2 separate regions of the Homo sapiens genome follow, and region 2 is linked to region 1. Evidence: promoter capture Hi-C in 16 types of primary human blood cells and fetal thymus (Javierre and others, 2016). All regions are on one chromosome and are shown on one strand. The core of a region is centred on a gene start or on the middle of the fragment in contact, and the rest is flanking DNA. Distances in the headings are between cores, read along the strand shown. Region 1 holds the start of SPSB1 (splA/ryanodine receptor domain and SOCS box containing 1). Region 2 holds the start of SLC25A33 (solute carrier family 25 member 33).

Region 1 (5,864 bases), core at 1,432-3,931:
AGCTTATGTCACAATGTTGCAAGATTATGTATCTTTTTTTAACAAACAATAGTATCAGCATGCTAGGGTGATTCTGAGCCCTTCTGACACATAAACTGGCTTCCAGGATTGCTCAACATTGCCCCATGCTGCAGCAGTCACTGCCGGCTGACCAGCCTTCCATCATCCGGCCAACCTGCCCAGCGTCCTGGAGGAGAGAAGGCCCACTCCCCAGGGGTTCTTCTGGGAAATTTAGGTCAGCAGGGTCTAATTATTCAACTGGATCAAGAGCTGAGATTTCCAGATTAACGCCGAAGGGGGGTGGGGTGGGGGTGCTGAAGACTTTTCATCAGGAACTGTCTTTCAGGGCCTTAAACATCAAAGCTGGGTCTCTAGCTCCAAAGTGCCCCAGTCTGCCCTGGAAGCTTCCCAGATGTTAAGAGGTGAGGCTTGGTGGAGTTCCTCTTAGCAAAGCTGACAACACCATGGCCCCAGGCCACGTGGCCGTAGCACCAGCCCCATGAGATGCCAGTGTCTGGTAGATGCCACACACACAGTGAATAATCCACCAAACAGGGCTACTCTCCCAAGGAGAAATGAACCCATCAGAGGCAGCTGTGATTTTCAGCAATGACTGACGTGGGCTGCACCCCATGGGCCTGTCCCAGAGGCTCTCACCAGTCTCCCAAGTAAACAACAGTTCTCAAACTGCAGAGTGGCTGGAGGGGGTCATATGCTCTTTTAAAATTATTATTACCTTTTTTTTCTTTTTTTTTGAGATGGAGTCTCGCTCTGTTGCCCAGGCTGGAGTGCAGTGGTGCGATGTCGGCTCACTGCAACCTCTGCCTCCTGGGTTCAAGAGATTCTCCTGCCTCAGCCTCCCGAGTAGCTGGGATCGCAGGCACGTACCACCACACCCAGCTAATTTTTGCATTTTCAGTAGAGATGGAGTGTTGCCATGTTGGCCAGGCTGGTCCTGAACTTCTTTTTTTTTTTTTTTTTTTTTTTTTGTGAGACGGAGTCTCGCTCTGTCACCTGGGCTGGAGTGCAGTGGCGCAATCTCGGCTCACTGCAATCTCTGCCTCCCGGGTTCACACCATTCTCCTGCCTCAGCCTCCCAAGTAGCTGGGACTTACAGATGCCCGCCACCACGCCTGGCTAATTTTTTATATTTGTAGTAGTGACGGGTTTCATCGTGTTAGCCAGGATGGTCTCCATCTCCTGACCTCGTGATCCGCCCGCCTCGACCTCCCAAAGTGCTGGGATTACAGGTGTGAGCCACCAAGCCCAGCCTGGTCCTGAACTTCTGACCTCAGGTGATCCACCTGCCTCAGCCTCCCAAAGCGCTGGGATTACAGGTGTGAGCCATCATGCCCGGCCAATTATTATTATTATTATTTAATTTTTGTGCAGAGTCTGTGTCTTGCTCTGTTGCCCGGGCTGCTCTTGAACTCCTGGGCTTAAGTGATCTGCCTGCCTCAGCCACCCAAAGTGTGGGGATTAAGGGCGTGAGAGCCACCACCTCCAGCCTCAAGTGATCTTTTAAATGGGAAGCACCCCTAAGCTGCTGGCCATGGCTGCCCACCTGACTAGTCTGGGTTCAACATTCCTAAACCGCTGGCACCTGGAAAGTCAGAATGCCCACTCAGGCCCGCCCAGCCCAGGGCAGTTGGTTGAGTCTCCGTAATCCTATTCTGAGTTCAAACAAAGCTAAACCAAACTGATTTTCAGCACCGTAAAATGAGAGACATCAAACTTTGTAATCTCACAGTTCAATTGGGTTCCAAGCTCTGGACAGCTGGCCTCGGGCCAGGCACTGTTTCCTCGCCTTTACAGTGAGTGTGTCATTAGTCCCACCCTCACTGTACTGGGTTATGGTAAAGACACAGTAACTACGGAAGCCCCGCTATTTGTTTCGGCTCCCCCAGAAAGGCTAACTCCTCACCGTTTTCAATGGACACTACACAGCGAGGGGTGGGGAATGCCAGGAGATTTTGCTCTCAAAACAGCAAAGTCTTTAAAATCTTCCCAGTCCCAAGTGACTGCTCTGTTCGGGGAAGGGGGAGGAAAATTCCTTGAACGAGCTAGAGCCACAGGACAAGTCCCCAGAGGCTGGGACCTGTTCAGGGAGCAGCCCTGCGGATGCCAGGTGCCCGCGCCCTCAGGGTCTCGAGGTCCGAGGCCCCCGTCCCCGTGGGCACCGAAACGCGAGCGGCCGAAACAGCGCTGCAGGAGGCTCCCTGGACCCCCGGCGGCTGCCCACTCGTCCCCGCTGGGCACTTCAGAGGAGGCCGGCGAGGCCTTGCTCGGGGTTCCTGGGACAACCCCACTCTCCGCGAAGATTTCTCCTTCTCGTAAGACCCCCGCCCCCACTCCAGCCTCCCACGGCTGCAACCCAGGCCCTGCGCCACGCGTTTCCCAAAGACGCCTCCGGAGGGACCCGAGCTTCGGGCCGGCAACACCAGGGCGGCGGCTCGGGAGAGGGCTGCGGACTAAGGGGGCGGAGGGGGCGGCCGAACCAGCGCCGGGCTGACGCGCCCCGCGCCCCGCGCCCCGCGCCCCCGGCCTTCCCTGCAGTGCTGAGTGGTCCGTGCGCCCGAGGTCGGGGGCGGGGCGGGGCGGGGCGGGGCAGGGACGGCCCCGCCCACCGGCGCTTTTCTCTTTTTTTTCACTTTAAAGCCGTCGGTTGCTTTTTCTCCTCCGCACAGAAGTCGCGCTCGGGCAGCCTGCGCGCTCGCAGCAGGAACCAGGCTCCAGGCGCCGGCGCCGGGGCCGGGGCCGCGGGGAGGAGGCGACTTCGCTCCCTGCGGCGGGCGCGGCCCGGGCGCCCGAGCCTCCTCGGCCTTGGAGAGCAGCGGCGGCGGCGGCACCCCGGGCGCGGTAGGCGGCGCGGGGCACCTGGGACCCCGATGGGTGGGCGACCGGCCCGGGAGGGGGAGGCGCGGGGGGCCGGGCGAGGGCGGACGCGGGGATCGCGCCGCTGGGGGACCGAGTGGGTGGCGCGGGGCCGGGCGCGGGGGAGCGGGTGGAGTACGGGATGGGGACTCGGGGCGCGGCCCCTCCCGCGGTGGCTCCGGGGGCGCCTCCCTCGCCGCGGCTCCTGGGAGAGGGGCCCAGGCCCGCCCCGCGCTGCCGCCGCTGCAGGGCAGGGGGTCCCGGGGCGAGGCGCGGCGGGGGTCTCGGGGCGCGGGGACCGTCGCAACGAGTTGCGGTCCCGAGGAGGGGCTGGGGCGCTCCGGGGCCGCCGACCCGTCCCCCCTTTAGCCCGGGGAAAGCGGGACCCCGCTCGGCTGAGTTAGTTTCGCTTTTCCCGCCAGTCCGAGTCGGGATTGGCGGCGCGGCCCGGTCCCCCGTCGGGGCGCCCCCACCCTCCCGCAGCGCCTCCCCCAGGGAGCCTGCCGGGGACACCCGAGCGCCGCCCTCCCCGCCGCCCCGGAGCCGCCGCGGCTTCTCCCAGCAGCGGAGGGAGAGCCGGAGGGTTGTCAGGAAATCGATTAAATCAGAAAAACAAGGGCGGCCTGGGCCCGCGGGAGGAACCGCGGATGGGTCACCGTCCCCGGGCGTGTACTGGGCTCGGTGGCGTCCAGGTTCCGGTGAGGACGGGACGGCCCCGAGAGGAGGGTGCGGGTCTGCAGGAAGAGCGGGTGTCTCTGAGAGTGCATCTGCGTGTGTGTTTGTGCATGTCCTTGTGAATATGTGCCTGCGTATGAGTGTGTCTGTGTGTTCATGTGGGTGTGTGTGTGAGTGTGTCTCTAAGTGCATCTGTGTATTTATGTGCCTCTGAGTGTGTGTGTGAGTCTGTGTGTCTGTCAATGTGTGCCTGAGACTCTAAGTGACTGTGTGTGTGTGTGTGTGTCTGAGTGCGTCTTTGTGTATTTGTGTGTGCCTCTCTGTGTATGTCTGTGTGTCTTTGTGTGTGTCTGTGTGTGAGTGTGTATGTGTCTTTGGGTGTGTGTCTCTGCAAGTTTGTGTCTCTGAGTGTCTGTCTCTGCAAATGTGTGTCTCTGTGTCTTTGTGTCTGTGTGTGTCTTTGCGTGTGTGTGTCTTTGTGTCTCTTTGTGTGTCCACACGTGTCTCTGTGTCTGTCTCTGTGTCTGTGTCTCTGAGTGCGTCTGTGTATGTGTGAGTGTCTGTGTGTCTCCAAGTGTGTGTCTGTGTGTCTTTGTGTGTGTTTCTCTGTGAGTGTGTGTGGGGACCATCCAGGGGGCCCTCTGGTTCCTAGGTACTGCTCCTCATGGTGATTTCTTTACTTGGTTCTGGATAGCCGGGCATGCTGGGCCACAGACACCCCACTAGGCAAGCCCTGCTGGTGCCCCCGAGGAGAGCGCAGGCTCTTCCTCTCTCCATTTCTCTGAAAATGAACTACACAGTTTGGGGGTGAGTTGGCAGGGGCTGCTTCCTGAGTGAGTAATATTTAATTAAACACTCCAGTCTGTAGCATCAGAAACTGGTCATGAGTTGAGTTTTAACAGGTGTTCATGGTAAAAGCGCCATCCCTGGTGACTAAGGTTTGATGTCCTTGGAAGAATTTTCTCGTTGGGGGGGCTGGGCCCACAACTTCATTTCTCATCGTGGGGTGTGAGGAGAACAGCAAGCAAGGAAGGGGATGGGGGCCTCTCCCTTCTGCCCTGTCCCCCTCCTCAGACCCCCCTCCCAGTGGTGGAAAGCCCTGGGCTAAGCATGGGCAGCACAGGTGGTCTCTCCACACTGAGGAATTTTGGAGTCAGGGAAGTCCTGTCTTACTGTCTAGGCCAGCCTGTCCTAGAGAGGCCCAGAGAGGGCGGTTCACTTACCCAGACTGCACAGCCAGGGCTGTGGACCAAGACTCCCCAGTCCTGAAACTGTTGCTCTTGGTTACTGTCCCCAGCACTGAGGTCATGGGCCAGGCACTTCGTGTCTCCCCAGCTGTGAAGTGATGGGCTGGATTAGATCATTTAAAGCACTCCTGCTCTCTTACAGCTGCTTTTCTTCTGCAGGGAGCACTTTACCCAGTAGATGGAGTGTGTGTGTGTGTGTGAGAGTGTGAGTGTGTGTGTGTGTGTGTGTGTGTGCGCGCGTGCGGTTGGGGAGGTGTGGAGTGGACTAAGGCAATCACTTTACAAGTCTTCCTTTTCCAGTCTGGCTACCACCCTAGCAGCAGAGAAAACAAAAGCAGTAGCATGTTGGCCCCAGTGGCTCAGACAGCCCCGAGCAGGGAGCAAGGCGGGTGCCATGCCGGCTTAAGAGAGACCTGGCCCTGGGAAGAATCAGTGGGTTTCAGGGCTCTTAGGAAGGGGTGGGCCTGCCTGGGGCCCTGGTGATGTCACTTTGGAGCTGGGTGAGGCCGTTTCTTGGGCTGCTGTAGTAAGGCTGGATCCACCCTTCAGTGGGTCCCTCTGGGCTGCTGCAGAATCTCACCCCCTTGGAATCATCACAGATGTTGAATTTCTTCACCAGAGCTGGGGAATGGGGTGGGGGCCTAGCCCGTGGAAGCCAGCGCTGCCCTCCCACCCCCATGGTGTGTGCCGTGCTCCCTTCCTGCACCTGCCCCTCCTCCTGGGTGGATGGAAACTTGCCTGCAGACGCATTTTCAAATTCAGCGAAACCTCTGATTCTTACGGTGTTCATGAGTTCGTCTGGGCATTTTGTATCAATTTTTCTCGAGAAATAGGTTGTAGCTGGTGTGCATGACTCAGTGTATCTTTTGGTTCTGAAAAATTTTATCAGACGACAGCACAAGGTCAGGTACAGGTGTGCCTCAGTCTGCCCAGGGGTGTGTTATCCTCTCCCCAGCCCTCAACACTAGATCAGTGAAATCCAGACTCTAAGGGACTTCGATTTTGGACTTTCAGTGAGTGCTCTCCCCTCCCCCAGTTATCTGATAACATCTCCCCCAGTCTAAAGTT
Region 2 (5,870 bases), core at 2,827-5,326, 250 kb after region 1:
GAGTTCAAGACCAGCCTGGCCAACATGGTGAAACCCTGTCTCTACTAAAAATACAGAAAAATTAGCCAGGCATGGTGGCACGTGCCTGTAATCCAGCTACTCGTGAGGCAGAGGCAGGAGAATTGCTTGAACCCAGGAGGTGGAGGTTGCAGTGAGCTGAGATCATGCCACTGCACTCCAGCCTGGGTGACAGAGTGAGACTTCATCTAAAAAAATAAATAAAAATAAATAAAATAAAATAGAGATGGGGTCTTGCTATGTTGCCCAGGTTAGTCTAGAGCCGAAATGATCCTCCCACCGTGGCCTCCCAAAGTGATGAGATTACAGAGGTGAGCCACCACACCCAGCCTGTAAAAATAATTTTTTTCTTTTTTGACACGGAGTTTCACTCTTGTCACCCAGGCTGGAGTGCAATGGCATGTTCTCAGCTCACCACAACTCCCACCTCTTGGGTTCAAGCCATTCTCCTGCCTCAGCCTCCCAAGCAGGTGGGATTACAGCCGCCCACCACCATGCCGAAGTTAATTTTTGTATTTTTAGTAGCAGCTTATGGGCCAGGCTGGTCTCAAACTCCTGACCTCAGGTGATCTGCCTGCCTCAGCCTCTCAAAGTGCTGGGATTACTGGCGTGAGCCACCGCGCCTGGCCTAAAAATAATTTTTAAAATTTTTATATTAAAATTGCTGCTAGCAAAACCTTTTTTTTTGTATATTGACCTTATTTCCTGTGATCTTGCTAAATTCACTAATTAGTTCTAGTAGTTGTTATATAGATTACTTAGAATTTTCTAGTAAACAGTTACATCATCTATGACTGAAGACAGTTTCACTTCTTTATGATCTTTACACATTTTTTTTTCTTGCCTTACTGCACTGACTAGGGCCTCTAGCACAACATTGAGTAAGTGGTAACGGCAAATATCTTTGCTTATTGCCAATCTTAGGGGCAGGTGGTCAGTTATTTAATGTTGTGTGTGATGTTAGCTATAGGTTTGGGGTAGACGCTTTATATCAGATAGAGGAATTCCCTCCTGTTCCTTGTTTGCTGAGAGCTTTTTTTCATGAATAGGTGTTCAGTTTTTTCAAATGCTTTTCTGCATCAATTTACATGGTCATCAGGTTTTTTTCCATTATTCTCTCTTTCTCTTTCACTGTTTTTTTTTTCTTTTTTTCCTTTTTTTTTTTTTTTTTTTTTTTTTGCTGTTGACACAGCCCCAGGAGGTCCTGGGAACATGTGTCCCTGTTATTCTCTTAATATGCTGAATTATATGGATTGATTTTTTGAATGTTAAACCAATCTCTAATTCCTGGGCATCTCTCATTTCGTCCTGATGTATTATCCTTTTTCTATATTGCTGGATTTGATTGCCAATGTTTCATTAAAGGTTTTTATCTATTGGAATCTCTGTTGTATACCCAGTACATGGCCATGGCCAATGCCTGAGCTGGTGTCAGAGGAGCTCTAGAAGTCTAGGAAGGGGGCCATCCTAGTCAGGGAAAATAGCAGGTTCAAGCCAGGCGTGGTGGCTCACACCTGTAATCTCAGCACTTTGGGAGGCCAAGGCGGGCGGATCACCTGAGGTCAGGAGTTCGAGCCCAGCCTGGCCAACATAGTGAAACCCTGTCTCTACTAAAAATACAAAAATTAACCAGGCATGGTTGCGGGCGCCTGTAATCCCAGCTACTCGGGAGGCTGAGGCAGGAGAAACGCTTGAACCCAAGAGGTGGGGGTCGCAGTGAGCCGAGAACGCACCATTGCACTCCAGCCTGGGCAACAAGAGTGAAACACCGTGTCAAAAAAAAAAAAAAAGAAAAAACCAACAAAAATTAGCCAAGCATGGTGGCATATGTCTGTAATCCCAGCTACTCAGGAGGCTGAGGCAGGACAATCGCTTGAATCTGGGAGGTGGAGTATGCAGTGAGCCAAGATGGTGCCACTGCACTCCAGCCTGGGTGACAGAATGAGGCCTCCTCTTAAAATAATAGGCCAGGTGCGGTGACTCACGCCTGTAACCCCAGCACTCTGGGAGGCTGAGGTGGGCGGATCACGAGGTCAGGAGTTTGAGACCAGCCTGACCAACATGGTGAAACCCTGTCTCTACTAAAAATACAAAAATTAGCCCAGTGTGGTGGTGCATGCCTGTAATCCCAGCTACTCAGGAGGCTGAGGCAGGAGAATTGCTTGAACCCGGGAGGCAGAGGTTGCAGTGAGACGAGATCGTGCCACTGCACTCCAGCCTGGGTGACAGAGCAAGACTCCATCTCAAAATAAATAAATAAAAATTAAAAAAAACATATAATAAAAATAAAAAATTATTTATTTTTACTTTTTTTTTTCTTTTGTAGAGACAGGGTTTTGCCACGTTATCCAGGCTGGTCTTGAGCTACTAGACTCAAGTCATCCACTCTTCTCAGCCTCCCAAAGTGCTGGGATGACAGGAGTGGGCCACTGTGCTGGGTTTTCTTTACTTCTTTTTCTCAGATATCTCATGCCCTAGTATGGCTTCCCCTTCTCCTAGGCCTGGGAGCAATGGCTTTAATAGTAACCACTGTATTTGCATTTTGGAGGACTGCTCCTAAGAGCTGTTTTTATTTAAAGAGTCCCAGCAATCAAATACAGATTGGCTGGCTAGCTCCCACGTTTCCACACAATTCCCTCCTACTTAAGCTCTCTATGTTTACACACAGGACATCTAACTGCTTGTTCTGGTCAAGGTACAGCTTTCCGGAGCTCTGAGAGACGGAAGAGAAAGGGTTGGTACGTTCTGCAGGTGAATGGTGGTCTGCTGAGAGAGAGACAGACAGAGAGACATAGTCCAAGGTAACAGGAAAGCTTCTGGCACTGGTGCCTGTGCAGTCAGTGGTGTCACTGCCAGGACAGGAAATAGAGGTAGAGCAGGTTTGGGGGAGGGGAAGAATGATAAGTTCAATTTGGGACCTTTATTCATTAGCTCCTTGGGCATTACTAGGTGGCAGGTACTGTGTCAGGAACAACTGTGAACAAAAGAAATAAGGTCCCTGCTCTCCTGAAGCTTACATTCCTGTATGGGAAGGACAACTTAAATAAATCAACAAACTAACTGCAGAAGCCCTGGTTCTATAGTCGTGTGACAGACTGCGCTGCAAAGGCGGCCAGGAAAGTCTCCATCTGGGGGAGACCTGGAGATTAGAAGATGTCAGGTTGAGTATGACAATGACCCAGTGACATAGGCTGAGAGAAGCAGTTTGGATATCTAGGTCTGGGCTGGAGATGATCAGAAAAGAAGCAAAAAGCATACTGCAAAATATACGCAGCATATACTACTACTTATAGGGAGATCAAAAATCCACATAATGATAATGATTATTAATTATTTGAGACAGAGTCTCGCTTTGTCGTCCAGGCTGGAGTGCAGTGGCAAGATCTTGGCTCACTGCAGCCCCCGCCTCCCGGGCTCAAGCGATTATCCAGCCTCAGCCACCCAAGTAGCTGGGATGACAGGGGTGCGCCGCCTCGTCCGGCTAACTTTTGTATTTCTAGTAGAGACACGGTTTCGCCGTCTTGGACAGGTTGGTCTGTAACTCCTGGCTTCAGGCGATCCGCCCGCCCGCCTCGGCCTCCCAAAGTGTTGAGATTGCAGGCGTGAGCCACCGTGAGGGCCTCACTGATTATCTAAGGCTGTTTAGATTATAGATTTTTAGATTATGTTTTTGTTTCCCTAAACGGGGTGGTGAGTACAGAGGTGTGAGATGTAACACGTAATTTGTACACCTTTTGCACACGTAAATATCACAAAGTAAACTTTTAAAATAAGGCAAGGCCTAGGGCCTCGCGAGGCTTCTCTGAGGAGCGAGGACCAGTCAGTCACAGCCAGTTTCCACTGCCTCCACGCTCCGGCCTAGGCCAGCCCCTCTCCCCAGTCATTCGCTCGGGGCTGGCTCCGCCCCAGAACTGCGCAACCTCCCCGCCCACATCCGCGTCCTAACCAATGAGCGCTCGAAATTTGGGTCCACACCCCCGTCACGCCCCGCCCCAGACTCGCGCGCCCGTGACGTCACGGTCCGGCCCCCGCCACGTGACGGCCGCGCGCCGGGCTCTAGCTCCCCGCCGGGCTCGCGCCGCAGAGGCCGGTGAGGCGCCGGCGGCCACGCCGCGGAAGGCGCGGGCCGAGCAGAGCCGGGCGTTGGAGCCCGCGCGCGCATGGAGGCGTTGCCGGCAGCCCCCTGAGGGCAGCGGGGAGACAAGACCCGGCGACCTCGCGCATCCCTCGAGCCGCCACGCGCTCTCGCCACCGGGCGGCGACGGGCCGCGGAGCCGGCGCGGCCATGGCGACGGGCGGCCAGCAGAAGGAGAACACGCTGCTTCACCTCTTCGCCGGCGGGTGAGTTCCCGGGCCCAGCCGCGCGCGCCCCACCGCCTGCGGTCCCCTCGGCCTTCGCCCCGGGCGCGGCCCCAGCCTCCCGCGGCGGTTACCGGCCTTCCCCGGGCTACGGCGCCGGCGCTCGGGAGGAGGAAGTCCCGGCGTCGGGGACTGGTGGGCAGGGCCGAGGGAGGGGGTCGGGCCTTCCTCACCCCTACGTCCTGACCGCAGCCCCGAGGGCGGCTGTGCCCCGCCGCCCGTCCTCCCCGCGGCGTCCCCAGCTTTTCCCCATTCTGAAGAGTCAGTGGCCGGTGAGTGGTGCTCGGCGGCGGTCCAGCCTGGACGCTGTGGCGCGGCCCCCCCTCCCCCGCCCCCTTCTCCTGGGGCCTCTCCCGAAGCGCAGCGCCTCAGAGCCCGTGGTAGGATCGCTGATGCTCGGGTGTGCCCGAGGTTCCTCAGGGCAGCGCGGGAGGTCATCCGGACGGGCAAAAAGGTCTGCGGACGTTGGACGTCAGCAAGGCCTGGGTGGTGCTGGTGAACGGTGATGCTTGCGGCCACACGCGGGGTGGCTAAGCCAGGGACCCGAACTCATATGAGGTCTGGAAGGTGTGTTGAGACACTTCTCGCCGGCTGGTAGACGCTTCCAACGCCAGAGACCGCAGAATTGTAAGGTGTTCCTTGTTTTGAAAGCTGCATTAGGTCTATGGTCAGGCACCTTTTTTCCAGCGGAGACAATGCATTTTTAGGAGGTTGAGTTCTGCGGTTAGGAAGGGAGATGGTACCCCTCGCCACCTCCCCTTGTCACCTCCCGCCGAGAATAGAAGGTAAAATATTTTTGAGTATTAGTAATTTTCTTTTTTCCTTTATCACAGCCGGTGGCTTGGGGTCCTTTCGGAGTCTTACAGATATTTGGAGTATTAATTTGAGGACCTCATCGGCCTGGCACAGGAATTTTTGAGTGTAGGATATTTTGCATAAAATAGTTTATTCTGGGATGATCATCTTGGCTTGAGTAGTTGCAGCCTGGATTCCTACCTGGATATGTTCCTTACAACAAACAATGGTTGAGAAACTTATCTTGGAAGATGACTGATGAAAGCGTCCCTGAGCTTTTTTTGTACTTGTATTGTGGGCAGTCACCAGGTTACTTTAACCAAAAACTTCGGTGGGTCTTCATAGATTGGAAGAGTTTCTCATTCATCTCTTCCCTGTCATTCATTCCCTTGCAACCCTTCCCTCCATGTCTCCATTGAGACTTCCTTTTTTTTTTTGAGAGGGAGTCTTCCTCTGTCGCCCAGGCTGGAGTGCAGTGGTGCGATCTTTGGGCTCACTGCAACTTCCGCCTCCCGGATTCAGGCGATTCTCCTGCCTCAGCCTCCCGAGTAGCTGGGATTACAGGCCCCGCCACCAAGCCTGGCTAATTTTTTTTTTCTTTTTTTTTTTTTGAGACGGAGTTTCGCTCTGTAGCCCAGGCTGGAGTGCACTGGCGCCATCTCAGCTCACTGCAAGCTCCGCCTCCCGGGTTCACGCCA

What was found. The method cuts DNA at HindIII sites, captures the fragments that hold promoters and counts their contacts. A CHiCAGO score of 5 or more calls a contact.
Region 2: a contact is called between the fragment with the promoter of SLC25A33 here and the fragment with the promoter of SPSB1 in region 1, in 10 of 17 cell types (fetal thymus, M1 macrophages, non-activated CD4 T cells and 7 more). The highest score is 8.8, in fetal thymus.

The regions. Positions count from the first base shown.
Region 1 is chr1:9,290,213-9,296,076 of GRCh38, forward strand. It overlaps SPSB1 (splA/ryanodine receptor domain and SOCS box containing 1), which reads left to right and starts at 2,682. Exons shown (of 3, transcript NM_025106.4): 1 at 2,682-2,859. RefSeq lists silencers at 2,347-2,516, 2,567-2,646, 2,717-2,786, 3,327-3,616. The HindIII fragment of the contact is 6,551 bases long and covers 403-5,864 here.
Region 2 is chr1:9,535,389-9,541,258 of GRCh38, forward strand. It overlaps SLC25A33 (solute carrier family 25 member 33), which reads left to right and starts at 4,077. Exons shown (of 7, transcript NM_032315.3): 1 at 4,077-4,359. The coding sequence starts at 4,304. RefSeq lists silencers at 3,833-4,352, 4,373-4,732 and enhancers at 3,842-4,136, 4,803-4,932. The HindIII fragment of the contact is 15,144 bases long and covers 3,029-5,870 here.